4 separate regions of the Homo sapiens genome follow, and all the other regions are linked to region 1. The links are contacts of gene promoters, found by promoter capture Hi-C in blood cells and fetal thymus (Javierre and others, 2016). All regions are on one chromosome and are shown on one strand. The core of a region is centred on a gene start or on the middle of the fragment in contact, and the rest is flanking DNA. Distances in the headings are between cores, read along the strand shown. Region 1 holds the start of CCN6 (cellular communication network factor 6). Region 2 has its middle 38 kb from the start of SLC60A2. Region 3 overlaps SLC16A10 (solute carrier family 16 member 10). Region 4 overlaps SLC60A2 (solute carrier family 60 member 2).

Region 1 (2,700 bases), core at 122-2,621:
GTCCTATTTCTTAGGGAGGCAAGATAAGGCGTTGGCATCCTAACTGCAGTGGGTATTCCTTGTTGTTTGATGTGCATATACTTACAGTTTAATGACTCCTTAGTAAGCTCTGTGTGATCTGCAGGTTTTAGGGTGTCCATGGTTCTCCAAGGACACCAGATTCTCTGTGGTGGAGGACAGCCTCGTTTTTCCCAGGCCCTCAGCTCAGGCCTAAGCGAGGCTTGATGTTGTCTTTATACAGTAGTGACTGCCTTGAACAGTAACAAAGGTGAGCAATCGGTATAGGATAGGTAAGGCAGCAGGAAAAGGAGGGATAGGTAACTGATCAAAGGAAATAGAAATAGGCCTTGGGATGGGGGCAGGCAGGTGGGACGCCTCAGGGACCTGAGAGGGACAAAGCACCACGGCAGCTGCAAATGAAGATGGGAACACAGACCCAGGCTGAGAACATGGAGAAGCGAAGGTCCCACATGATGACACAGGAGGAGATGCGCTGGTGGTCACACCTTTCAGGGAGGTGAGTATGAAGAAGAGGAGTACAAACCTGTCAAAATTTTATTTTTAATCTTTTTTTTTTTTTTGAGAATAATTCTCACTCTTGTCCCCCAGGCTGGAGTGCAATGGTGCGATCTCGGCTCACTGCAACCTCCGCCTCCCAGGTTCAAGCGATTCTCCTGCCTCAGCCTCCCAAGCAGCTGGGATTACAGGCGCCTGCCACCACACCTGGCTAATTTTTGTGTCTTTTTTTTTTTTTAGCAGAGACGGGATTTCATCATATTGGCCAGGCTTATTTTTAATCTTAATTCATTAAATGAATGATTGCTACCAGTGTAATTGTTTTATTTTAGGCCCGGAAAAATGGAGGTTAACTTCATTGTCATCTGTCATGGAACTGTGGCCACAAAAAGAGGCGTCTCTCAGGCCAGGTACTGTAGGAGTCCGCCCCCTGCTCCATCTGTATTTTTTCCACTCACAGTCCACCTGGCATGAGAAAGGTGTTGGGATAAAGGTGAGCCCAGGGCACTGTGGGTGCCTCCGAGAGAATCTGAGCTGGGGGAGTCAGGGTCCTTCGAGAGCCTGCCATTAATATGGAGGGGGAAAGCCAGGGCTAGGCTGCGATGGGTGCTGTTGGTGGGGGGGCCAGGCCTGCACTCTGTACGTGAGGGTGAAGCTGGAGAAGGAAGCAGCCTAGAGAGGACCCGGAGCAGGGCAAACACAGATGGAGAAGCTGAGGGCAAGGAAGGGAATGACGTGGGACCCCACCCGTTGTCGGGGGCAGGCTCTGCTCTCCAGGAACAGGTAACACAGTCACTTAGAGAACAGTCACTACTTGCCCTGCCCTCCTGAGTCCCGGGAGGAAAGTGCTCGCCCATTCCTGACCTGTGACACGCTCACTGCGAAGGCAGGTTATTAGAAGAGTCCCATGAAAGTAAACAGGGTATTAAAACGGATCCTTAAAAATGAAAGTGCAGGCTGAAAGTTGGTAGTGTGGGAGGTAGAGGGTGTGTGTTCTTGTGCAGAGGAGCGTGGGGTTTGCAGAGGAGACAGGGGAGCTTTGTGTACCCGGAGCAATGAACAAGCGGCGACTTCTCTACCCCTCAGGGTGGCTCCACGGTCCCAGCGACATGCAGGGGCTCCTCTTCTCCACTCTTCTGCTTGCTGGCCTGGCACAGGTAAGTCCTCTCCCCCGACTCTTTCCCTTCCGGAGGCTATGGCCATCCTTAGTTCTTCAGGCCCAAAACTAAACAAAACGAAGATGGAGGAAGAGGGAGGATCAATGGCTTGTGGAACTACTTCATGAGAAATAGGAAGCCATTTTTCTTTCCAAATAAAGTTCTGTGTTCGTTCATGAGCTTCATGAAAGAAATGTAAAACATTTCTCCCTTTCAGGTAATGGCACCGAAGCCTCCTTTCGCTATGTTTGAACAGCGCCACGCTTTCCTATATATTTTTATAGCAGAGCCTAAGGCACAGCCTGGCACAGTGCGGGAAACAGTGTCTCTCCATGCCAGCTCCAGGCGGAGGCTCAACTTTCCATTGCTGTTTGCAAAATGTGCAAAGAGCCCCTGGAAAAACGAATTTTGACAGCGACTTTTTCCAGTTAAGTCTGTCCTTCTTTGAAAGGGGCACTTTGGAATAAACATTTACATTTTTAAAACATTCTCTTACTTTGTCTTTTCTCAGTCCATGTGTTTCTCACTTCCTGAAAGGGAAGCAGTCCATGGAGGCTTGGAAATATTTCAAGCAACAGACCAAAGGGAAGTTTAACTTACTATGAGCAATTCATTGCCTTAGTCTTTTTAAATAAGAAGATGAAAACAAGGTGACTTAATTGTTGATTTATTTACACGGTAGACAGGAGACAGAGCTTTTGAAATCTGGTGATTTAGGAAACATGGGTGTGTCTGTGAGTTAGTAGTTGATTGGGGCCATAAGTAGTAGATACATCTTAGAAAACAAGGAATTGCAAATTGTTATACCATATAGAGAGAGATTTACGATTTCAAAAGAATCATGACAAGAATGTCAGTGGTCCAGGTCATTGCTGCTGTTCTGTGGAGGGGCTCACTCCCCTGTCTGTGTGCCTCCTATTCCACTGTTCTTGAGAAAAAGCCTGTCATTGTGGATTGAGAGCAGCTAGATGTTCTTAGACAGCAGGTATTCCAACACAGAGAGATGTGTACAAAATAAACAACAACA
Region 2 (2,700 bases), core at 164-2,663, 760 kb before region 1:
ATCTGCCTTCCTGGTTACACTCTCTTCTCACCAGATATACAAAGAAACCTGATCTTATGAATATGAGAACTCCTCCACAAGATATTTTGCTTTGTAAACCACTCTTGGAGGTTGGCCAAAGTGCCAAAATGCAGCTATTGGGTAGGTTGAGGAAAGTAGACAGAGAAGTAGATTAGGTGGTGCATGTGTTTTGATTTCCTCCTTGGATTTCAAGTATAGACATAATCTGTGACTATTTGCCTGTGCAAAGCTAGTTATTAAGCAGAACTGGGGCATTAATGTTTCTGAATTTTATCCACTATTATACAACTCAAATGGGCTGGGCATGGCGGCTCATGCCTGTAATCCCAGCACTTTGGGAGGCCAAGATGGTGGGTCACCTGACATCAGGAGTTCAAGACCAGCCTGGCCAACATGGAGAAACCCCATCTTTACTGAAAATACAAAAATTAGCCGGGCATGGTGGTGCATGCCTGTAATCCCAGCTACTCAGGTTGCTGAGGCAGGAGAATCGCTTGAGGCAGGAGGCAGAGGTTGCAGTGAGCCGAGATCATGCCACTGCACTCCAGCCTCGGTGACAGAGCAAGACCCTGTCTGAAACAAAACAAAACCTCAAATGGTTAAAGGTAACAATTCTCATCACATCATGGGAAAAGGGCACATGGTATTATGGGATTAAAAATCAGTAGGGTGTGAATGCCAACCATCCTCCCAGAGGTACAGAGTTCACTAATAGAGGTCTGGCATATCCAGCCTAAAAGTAGCTACTTGTGCATTGCCATCTCCCCCAACCTCCACAGCTGATGGCAGAGCCCTAACAATGTCATTTATAGCCAGATTTATTTTTACTTTATAAAATTAAATGTGACTATTTTAAGAAATACTAGTCTACAATAGAGAAGTCAATTTAAAAGCTTATTTGGGCTGGGCGTGGTGGCTCCCAGTAGCCTGTAATCCCAGTACTTTGGGAGCCTGAGGTAGCCAGATCGTTGAGTTCAGGAGTTCGAGACCAGCCTGGCCAACAGGGCGAGACCCCATCTCAACCAAAAATACAAAAATTAGCCAAGCGTGGTGGTGTATGCCTGTAGCCCCAGCTACTTGGGAGGCTGAAGTGAGAGGACTGCTTGAACTCGGGGTGGAGGTTGCAGTGAGCCAAGATCGCCCCACTGCACTCCAGCCTGGGCAACAATGCAAGACCCCTCAAGACAAAACAAGCTTATTTGATGGGCCTTAAGGAATATTCCTGTACTCCAACTGTTATGAAAATAAAAGAGAGTAGATGAAAAGATCGACTACACAGCTACAAGACTTAACTAATGTAAGATCCGGAAAAGATGTTTAGGTGATCAGGGTGGCACACTTGATGGCAGGTAGGGTGCATCATCTGAGACTGAGGGTATAACCCATGACAGTCAGTGGGGTTGAACGGAGTCCACAAGCTCTCTGGGTGGCCTGCTCCATTGGCAAGATGAGGGCCACCTCCTCTAAGAATTCTTCATATCTTTAAAACTGCTCTTCACATTTTTATGTTTTTTCCAAATTTATTGTCCTTCCTCAAAGACACTATGTTGTGTCCATATAGAATTGATTATTACATGATTCATCTAGGGAAAAGCTTGAGTAGAAAGTGAGAAAAATGAGAGAAAACAATGTTAAACAACTTTAACAAATATTAATGTTTCACTTAATTCATTAAACATTAAGGAAATGTTTAATGAAGTTATTTGATGTCTCTGAGCTTCTGGCTCCTTTTCAGGTAAATGAAAACATCCTAAAGAATGAAACTGTTTCTTCAGCCATACTTAAATTTTTTTTTTCTGTGATCTGAGAGACAAAACTTTATTAATAGCCAATCATCTAAAAAGGAGGGAAAATTATGGAACACAGGAAGATCCTTACAAGAAAATTTCTTGGTAAAATAGTTCCAAATTTCAGCACCCTCCCCGATGAGTTAGTGAAACAGCAAATGGACCTCACTAAAAGGCAGTTAAGCTACAGACTCTGAGGACAGTTACAAAGGAGGAGCTTTCCTGCAGAAAACAGAACCAGAGACAGGCTGAGTGTGAGCTAGTTTTAGGCATTCATGTTGAATAACCATTTGTTAATATGGCTGTATCCAATTATAATCAATCAATCAGGTTAAAAATGGTTATTGTGTTGAAAATATTGTGTCAAGTTACTATGATGAGAAAGAGATGATGTGTGTGGAAGTCCTGACAGCACAGAACTTGTAAGTAACAGAATTTCATCAATCTACACATATAAAAGGGGGAAAAAACCCCAATGCTGAGGACTAGCCCCAGCCTCCCAAACAAAAAAAAATCCCCAGAAGTGGAAATTCATTATGTCTTAACAAGACTTGAAATAAATTATGTTCAGACACAGGCTATGTATCTCTTTGGTTCCATATTTACCATGTAATTTTCAGAAAAAGAATCCTCCCAACATTTGCAAGTACATATTCTGGCAATGGAAGACCTATTTCTGTTAAATAACCAGGTGAGTTATTTCTGTTAAAATAATAACTAACTTTTTTCTATTGAAAAAAATAGGCATATAAAAATTGGCATTTAAGTTTTTAAGAAGTAATGTAGTTTTTGCTTTCTCTGTAATTTAATTAATAATTATATCAAAATGAAAATGAACACTGAAGATCTACTAACAAACAAGTACACTCTTAAAACTCTCTAAAAGGATGAG
Region 3 (2,700 bases), core at 86-2,585, 820 kb before region 1:
GATAAACGGATGTAAAAGTAACAAAAAAGGAATAACAACTAATATGGCCTGTGGATCTGACAAAGAAAAACCTGAAGAAATTCAGAATCTAGATACACTTAGATTCTAAATTAGACACACTCAGATTCTAATGAACACTTAGAATGCTTCGCCAGTGGCTTTTCAAGTTACACTGGAAGCTTGATTATGAAAAAGTTTTGTTTTCATTGGCAAGAGGGTAGATGATCAGTGATGACAGATTGTACAGCTGTGCCCAAACCTGACAACTTACACATTAAACTCCTGTAAGAGACACTCCTTCCTAGTAGAACAAGGACTGGGACAATGAATTTTTGACTCACTGGAGTTTTTTAAAATGCTGTTCTTGAGTGTGGCAATAGTGTAGGAGTTAACCCAGTCTACCCAAAGAAGTTGCTTTGCCTTTCAATATGAGTGCTATAAAAAGAGTATTTTGGAGTTCAATGTCCCTAAACATGTATGCGATAGGAACTACCAATATAAAATAACACTTAGAACTCAAATTAGATTGGTAATACTATTTTGGAGCCTGTGATGTATGACTTTTATTCTTTACTAGATATTTTTCAGTATCCGTCATTAGAAGAGTCAGTTTGTTAAATATTTTAAATGTGTAAACACAAAACCTTTCTACTGTGATCTTCCCTAATGAGTCAAAGTATCTTTCATAATTCAGTCTATATTGAAATGTTATTTCAGGAATGGAGGGTTTGTTATTAATAGTGCTGGGCCGGGCACGGTGACTCATGCCTGTAATCCCAGCACTTTGGGAGGCCGAGACAGGCGAATCACCTGAGGTCAGATGTTGGAGACCAGCCTGACCAACATGGAGAAACCCCATCTCTACCAAAAATACAAAATTAGCCGGGCGTGGTGGCTCCATGCTGTAATCCCAGCTACTCGGGAGGCTGAGGCAGGAGAATTGCTTGAACCCAGGAGGTGGAGGTTGCAGTGAGCCAAGATTGCACCATAGCACTCCAGCCTGGGCAACAAGAGCAAAACTCTGTCTCAAAAAAAAAAAAAAAAAAAATAGTGCTGCATTTTGACCCTGGACTATGAACAGACTGTATAGTTGGTGCCTCTTTTTTTTCTACCAAAGATTATTAGATCAAGATTGGTGCTATACTTCATGTTCCTTTCAAAATTATTTTTCTTTTAAAAATATTAATATACAACACAATAGAAAATGTATACAGCCAGCAACGTTATGCATGTTGCATGTTATATACATGACTGAGGAAAAAAGCTCACCTATACAGTGATTATTGAGTTCCAGTATCTAGTTAGAGGTATGCAATTTTTGTTAACATATAAGACTTTAAATTACGAAACTCACAAGAAAATGATCACCAAATGAGAATGTTCTAATGAACACAACCTCCCAAGGTAATAATTTTAAAGAAAAAGTCCCTTGTCAATGTTTCTAGCACAAAGTGAGGGATTTAAATATATTCTGTAACTTTGAGGCAATGTGAAAAAGTTATATATAATAGCTTCCTATTGAGCTGGCTTATGTAGACATTTGGACATTTGAAACTATTTCGCAACTTTCAGGCTAAAATCAGAGTTTTGAGAGTCATCAATCTTAAAACATGGATAATGAGTTATTTGCACAGTTATATTTTTATAATTATTTGAAATTTATCACTGAAAGTATCATTGTTTGTCTTTCAGATTTAACATAAACAATAAGTACTGCGGCTGGGTCACTGTCAGCAAATCTCAGGTCTATGATTTATCAAGGGCTCTCAGCACCATCGTTGGTCTGATTGTGTAACACCTAAGTAAAATAACATATGGGTCTCCTTGGCCAGGCGCCGTGGCTCACACCTGTAATCCCAGCACTTTGGGAGGCCAAGGCAGGCGGATTGCTTGAGGCCAGGAGTTCGAGACATACGGGTCTCTTTAATGTTCTGTAGGTAGGATTCAGATGAATTGAGAATGACAGGTTTCTTTTTCTTTCTTTGTTTCTTTTTTTTTTTTTTTTTTGAGATGGAGTCTTGCTCTATTGCCAGGCTCCATATAGTGGCGCGATCTCAGCTCACTGCAACCTCCGCCTCCCGGGCTCAAGTGATTCTCGTGCCTCAGTCTTCTGAGTAGCTGGGACTACAGGTGCCCACTACCACACCGGCTAATTTTTGTATTTTTGGTAGAGATGGAGTTTCACCATGTTGGCCAGACTGGCCTTAAGTGATCCACCTGCCTCAGCCTCCCCAAGTGCTGGAATTACAGGCATGAGCCACCATGCCCGGCTAGAGAATGACAGGTTTCAGTTGAATTCTTCTCTTTTAAAAGACCCTGACTTAACTGTATTTTATGAGGATTTTATAAATGTAAATTAAGAAGACAATACACACTCTCATTTTCCTAATTAGAAAGACTATGCATTCACAATCCAGTACACTGGATTTGCTCTGGTAACTAATGATAACACTTTTCTACGTTAACATGAGTTATATTTGGCAGAGAGAATGGAAGCTTGCTAATCAGAAGTTACATTAGGGTGAGATTAAACATCACTCTAATAATAACTTCTGATGTAACTTAATGTGGTTTGAGATGTGTAAGATTGTAGAGGCATTGCACAATGCTTGATAAAAGTTGCATTTTGCTTTTGTTCTTCCACCAGTTTATTTTAGCCTTAAAGTTATAGCTACAACAAATTGAACCCTGTAGTTATTA
Region 4 (2,700 bases), core at 54-2,553, 780 kb before region 1:
TCTGTCAGTGGACATTTGTGTTGCTTCTACATTTTGGCTGTTGTTAATACGCTGCTGTGAATGTGGGTGTACAACTGTGTCTTTGAGATCTTGTTTTCAGTTCTTTTGAGATATATACCCATAAGTGGAATTGCTGGATCTTATGGTAATTCTATTTTTAATATTTTGTTGTGTTTGTGTTTTTTGTCTTAGATTTTTTTCTTAATCAAGTTTTTCCAGAAGAGAGTAGCTTTAGGAAGAGAATAAACACATACTTTTAAGGTATTATCTCAGACTTTAGGCGCATTATGATCATATCAGTAGCACCCATGTACTGAATAAGTGAACTCAAAGAAAAGTTATGTTGGGCAACTACCTCAAAGTTTTGTTATCTCTGCTTGCAATTTTTGTTCAGTCATTGCACAAGTGCTTGAGGGCTTACTGCATGTGAGGCTCTGTAGACTAAGTATTAATGAACTTTCTTTTTTGTCCTTGCAGTAGCAGGTACAGCTTTGATCTCAGTTTTCTGCCAAATGAATGGTTCTGTGTTTTGTGCTCATTCGTTTACAGAGATCCCTCTGAACCACCTTGGAACCAGAAGGTGTGTGGTCTGAGAACGATAAATGGGCTGCTCTCTGCCTCTCTCACAGCAGTTCTGCCCCTCCTTGGGACCACTCGTTTTCTGCATTCCTGGCCCATCTTCTATATATCTCTGGTCCAGATTCCAGAGGAAACCTGTTTGACTTGAATAGATGCCATTGCCCTTATTGGGCCTTGCCTCAGGAGTTCCTCTGTGTATCTCTGGTCCAGATTCCGGAGGAAACCTGTTTGACTTGAGTAGATGCCATTGCCCTTATTGGGCCTTGCCTCAGGAGTTGCTGGTTAGCCTATGAAGGGGTTCCCTTTGGGTTGATGACATTGCTCCCATCCAGAAAGTGGCTACTTCTACCCTCCTACTCCCACCACTCTGCATGCAGGAGCTGTTATCATCAAAAGGGAATGTCCACTGTCTGCTCTGTACCAGAGAAGTGCTAGGCTTCATAAATATTGGTAATCGATACCTGAATGGGATGAAAATTGGCAGGTCCTGGGATGGATGGCCTGGTTCATCTGCATCAGAACTGGAAAAACAAAATCACACCAAATTGCAGACTTTTTTGGAAGAGCGTGTTAGACAAGGTTTGTGGATTGTTTGATTTTTACCAAGAAAGAAAGCTTTCTCCTAAGAGGGTAAGATTTCTACTTGAGTGAGCTCTAAGAGGAGTCCCAGTTTGCAAGAGATATTATTACAGTTCTCATCTGTGCGGACCAGAAAGTTTTCCAAATTCATGCATTTCAGTTATCTAACAGATATTTACTGAGCATTTACCATGTTCAGTAACCAGGGCCCTGGGAATATAATAGGAGAAGGCAGATGAGATCCTTGCCTTCACCAAGCTTATGTTTTTCTATTTTAAGTAAAATTTGCCATGACAAAATTTCTATCAGCGGAAGAGCCAGTAACTCTTATTGTAATAGGTTTTACCCAGTTTTAGAAAAGGAAAGTAGCTAAACTCTTGGTTCCTTGGTGTGTGTTTTTGTTTGTTCATTTCTAGTACTTGTCTATGTCTTTGGGGTAATTTTTGATTTAGAATTTTGTAGAAATTACTCGGCACAGTGTAGTTGAGGTGAATATAGGCAAGAAGGCTTAGGAAGCCTACAACAAAGGAATCTGACACCAACTTTTGAGATTTATTCAGTCCAGCCAAGAGAATATATTTATGGTCAAACTAGATCTTGGATTACAGCTCCAAAGACCCTTGGGCTGACAGAGCAGGTTCTCATTTCTCAGCTCTTTCCCTTATCACTTGCAGTGAACTCTGCCCCCAGGAGCAGAGTATCCAGTTCTGTGTCCAAGCACTCTATGAATCTTTACCCTTGTTGAAGAAATACTCAGAGACAGAAGCATTTAGAAAAGGAAAAGTTTACCTGCAAAGAGAGCAAGAGAATGACTGGCTTGCCTAATAAAAAACGTAAGTATTTGAAGGAAAAAATTAAAAACTGCCAAGGTTTCTGAGTTTGCATTAGACTGTTCACGGTGAAAAACAGTAACTGCCTCATGTAATTATTGTATTCATAAAGGTTATGGCAAATCTTCAGATGTAGTACAGGAAAAACCAAGGATAAAATTTCTTAGGGAGTCCAGGTTTATGGGAAACATTCAAGGTTTTATTGTTTTTTAGATCATCAACAGTTAGATGACCCTATCATTTTTGTTTTGTCTCAGGGTGCAACGTCTTTCTTTTCTGATGGTGATTGATATAGTTTGGCTGTGTCCCCACCCAAATCTCATCTTGAATTCCCATGTGTTGTTGGAGGGACCTGGTGGGAGGTAACTAAATCATGGGGGCAAGTCTTTCCCGTGCTGTTCTTGTGATAGTGAGGAAGTCTCACGAGATCTTTTGGTTATTATAAGAGGGAGTTTTCCTGCACAAGCCCTCATTTTGCCTGCTGCCATCTATATAAGATGTGATTTGCTGCTCCTTGCCTTCCGCCATGATTGTGAAGCCTCCCCAGCCATGTGGAACTGTAAGTCCAATAAACCTCTTTTGTAAATTACCTAATCTCAGGTCTGTCTTTATCAACAGCATGAAAACAGACTAATAGAATGATATAGGAAGTTCTTAGTCTTACTGAAGCAAGGGAAAGTGACATTTTGCTTCTACACCCTCCAGAATTCAT

What was found. Contacts are between HindIII fragments. The CHiCAGO score rates a contact against its expected background, and 5 or more counts as called.
Region 2: a contact is called between a fragment that was not itself captured here and the fragment with the promoter of CCN6 in region 1, in 1 of 17 cell types (activated CD4 T cells). The highest score is 6.0, in activated CD4 T cells.
Region 3: a fragment that was not itself captured here is called in contact with the fragment with the promoter of CCN6 in region 1 in 3 of 17 cell types (total CD8 T cells, naive CD8 T cells and naive CD4 T cells); the score reaches 6.1 in total CD8 T cells.
Region 4: a contact is called between a fragment that was not itself captured here and the fragment with the promoter of CCN6 in region 1, in 3 of 17 cell types (activated CD4 T cells, non-activated CD4 T cells and total CD4 T cells). The highest score is 5.9, in activated CD4 T cells.

The regions. Positions count from the first base shown.
Region 1 is chr6:112,052,733-112,055,432 of GRCh38, forward strand. CCN6 (cellular communication network factor 6) reads left to right here and starts at 1,372. Exons shown (of 5, transcript NM_198239.2): 1 at 1,372-1,673. The coding sequence starts at 1,626. The HindIII fragment of the contact is 6,629 bases long and covers 1-2,700 here.
Region 2 is chr6:111,296,127-111,298,826 of GRCh38, forward strand. No RefSeq gene overlaps it. Among named protein-coding and RNA genes, the nearest start is that of SLC60A2, 38 kb to the left of the region's middle. The HindIII fragment of the contact is 400 bases long and covers 1,214-1,613 here.
Region 3 is chr6:111,228,002-111,230,701 of GRCh38, forward strand. SLC16A10 (solute carrier family 16 member 10) reads left to right here. Exons shown (of 6, transcript NM_018593.5): 6 at 1-2,700. The region is part of intron 2 of SLC60A2-DT (SLC60A2 divergent transcript); the gene reads right to left. Among named protein-coding and RNA genes, the nearest start is that of SLC60A2-DT, 30 kb to the right of the region's middle. The HindIII fragment of the contact is 2,317 bases long and covers 178-2,494 here.
Region 4 is chr6:111,276,168-111,278,867 of GRCh38, forward strand. It overlaps SLC60A2 (solute carrier family 60 member 2), which reads left to right. Exons shown (of 4, transcript NM_153369.4): 4 at 1-2,700. Among named protein-coding and RNA genes, the nearest start is that of SLC60A2, 18 kb to the left of the region's middle. RefSeq lists an enhancer at 1,759-1,928. The HindIII fragment of the contact is 222 bases long and covers 1,193-1,414 here.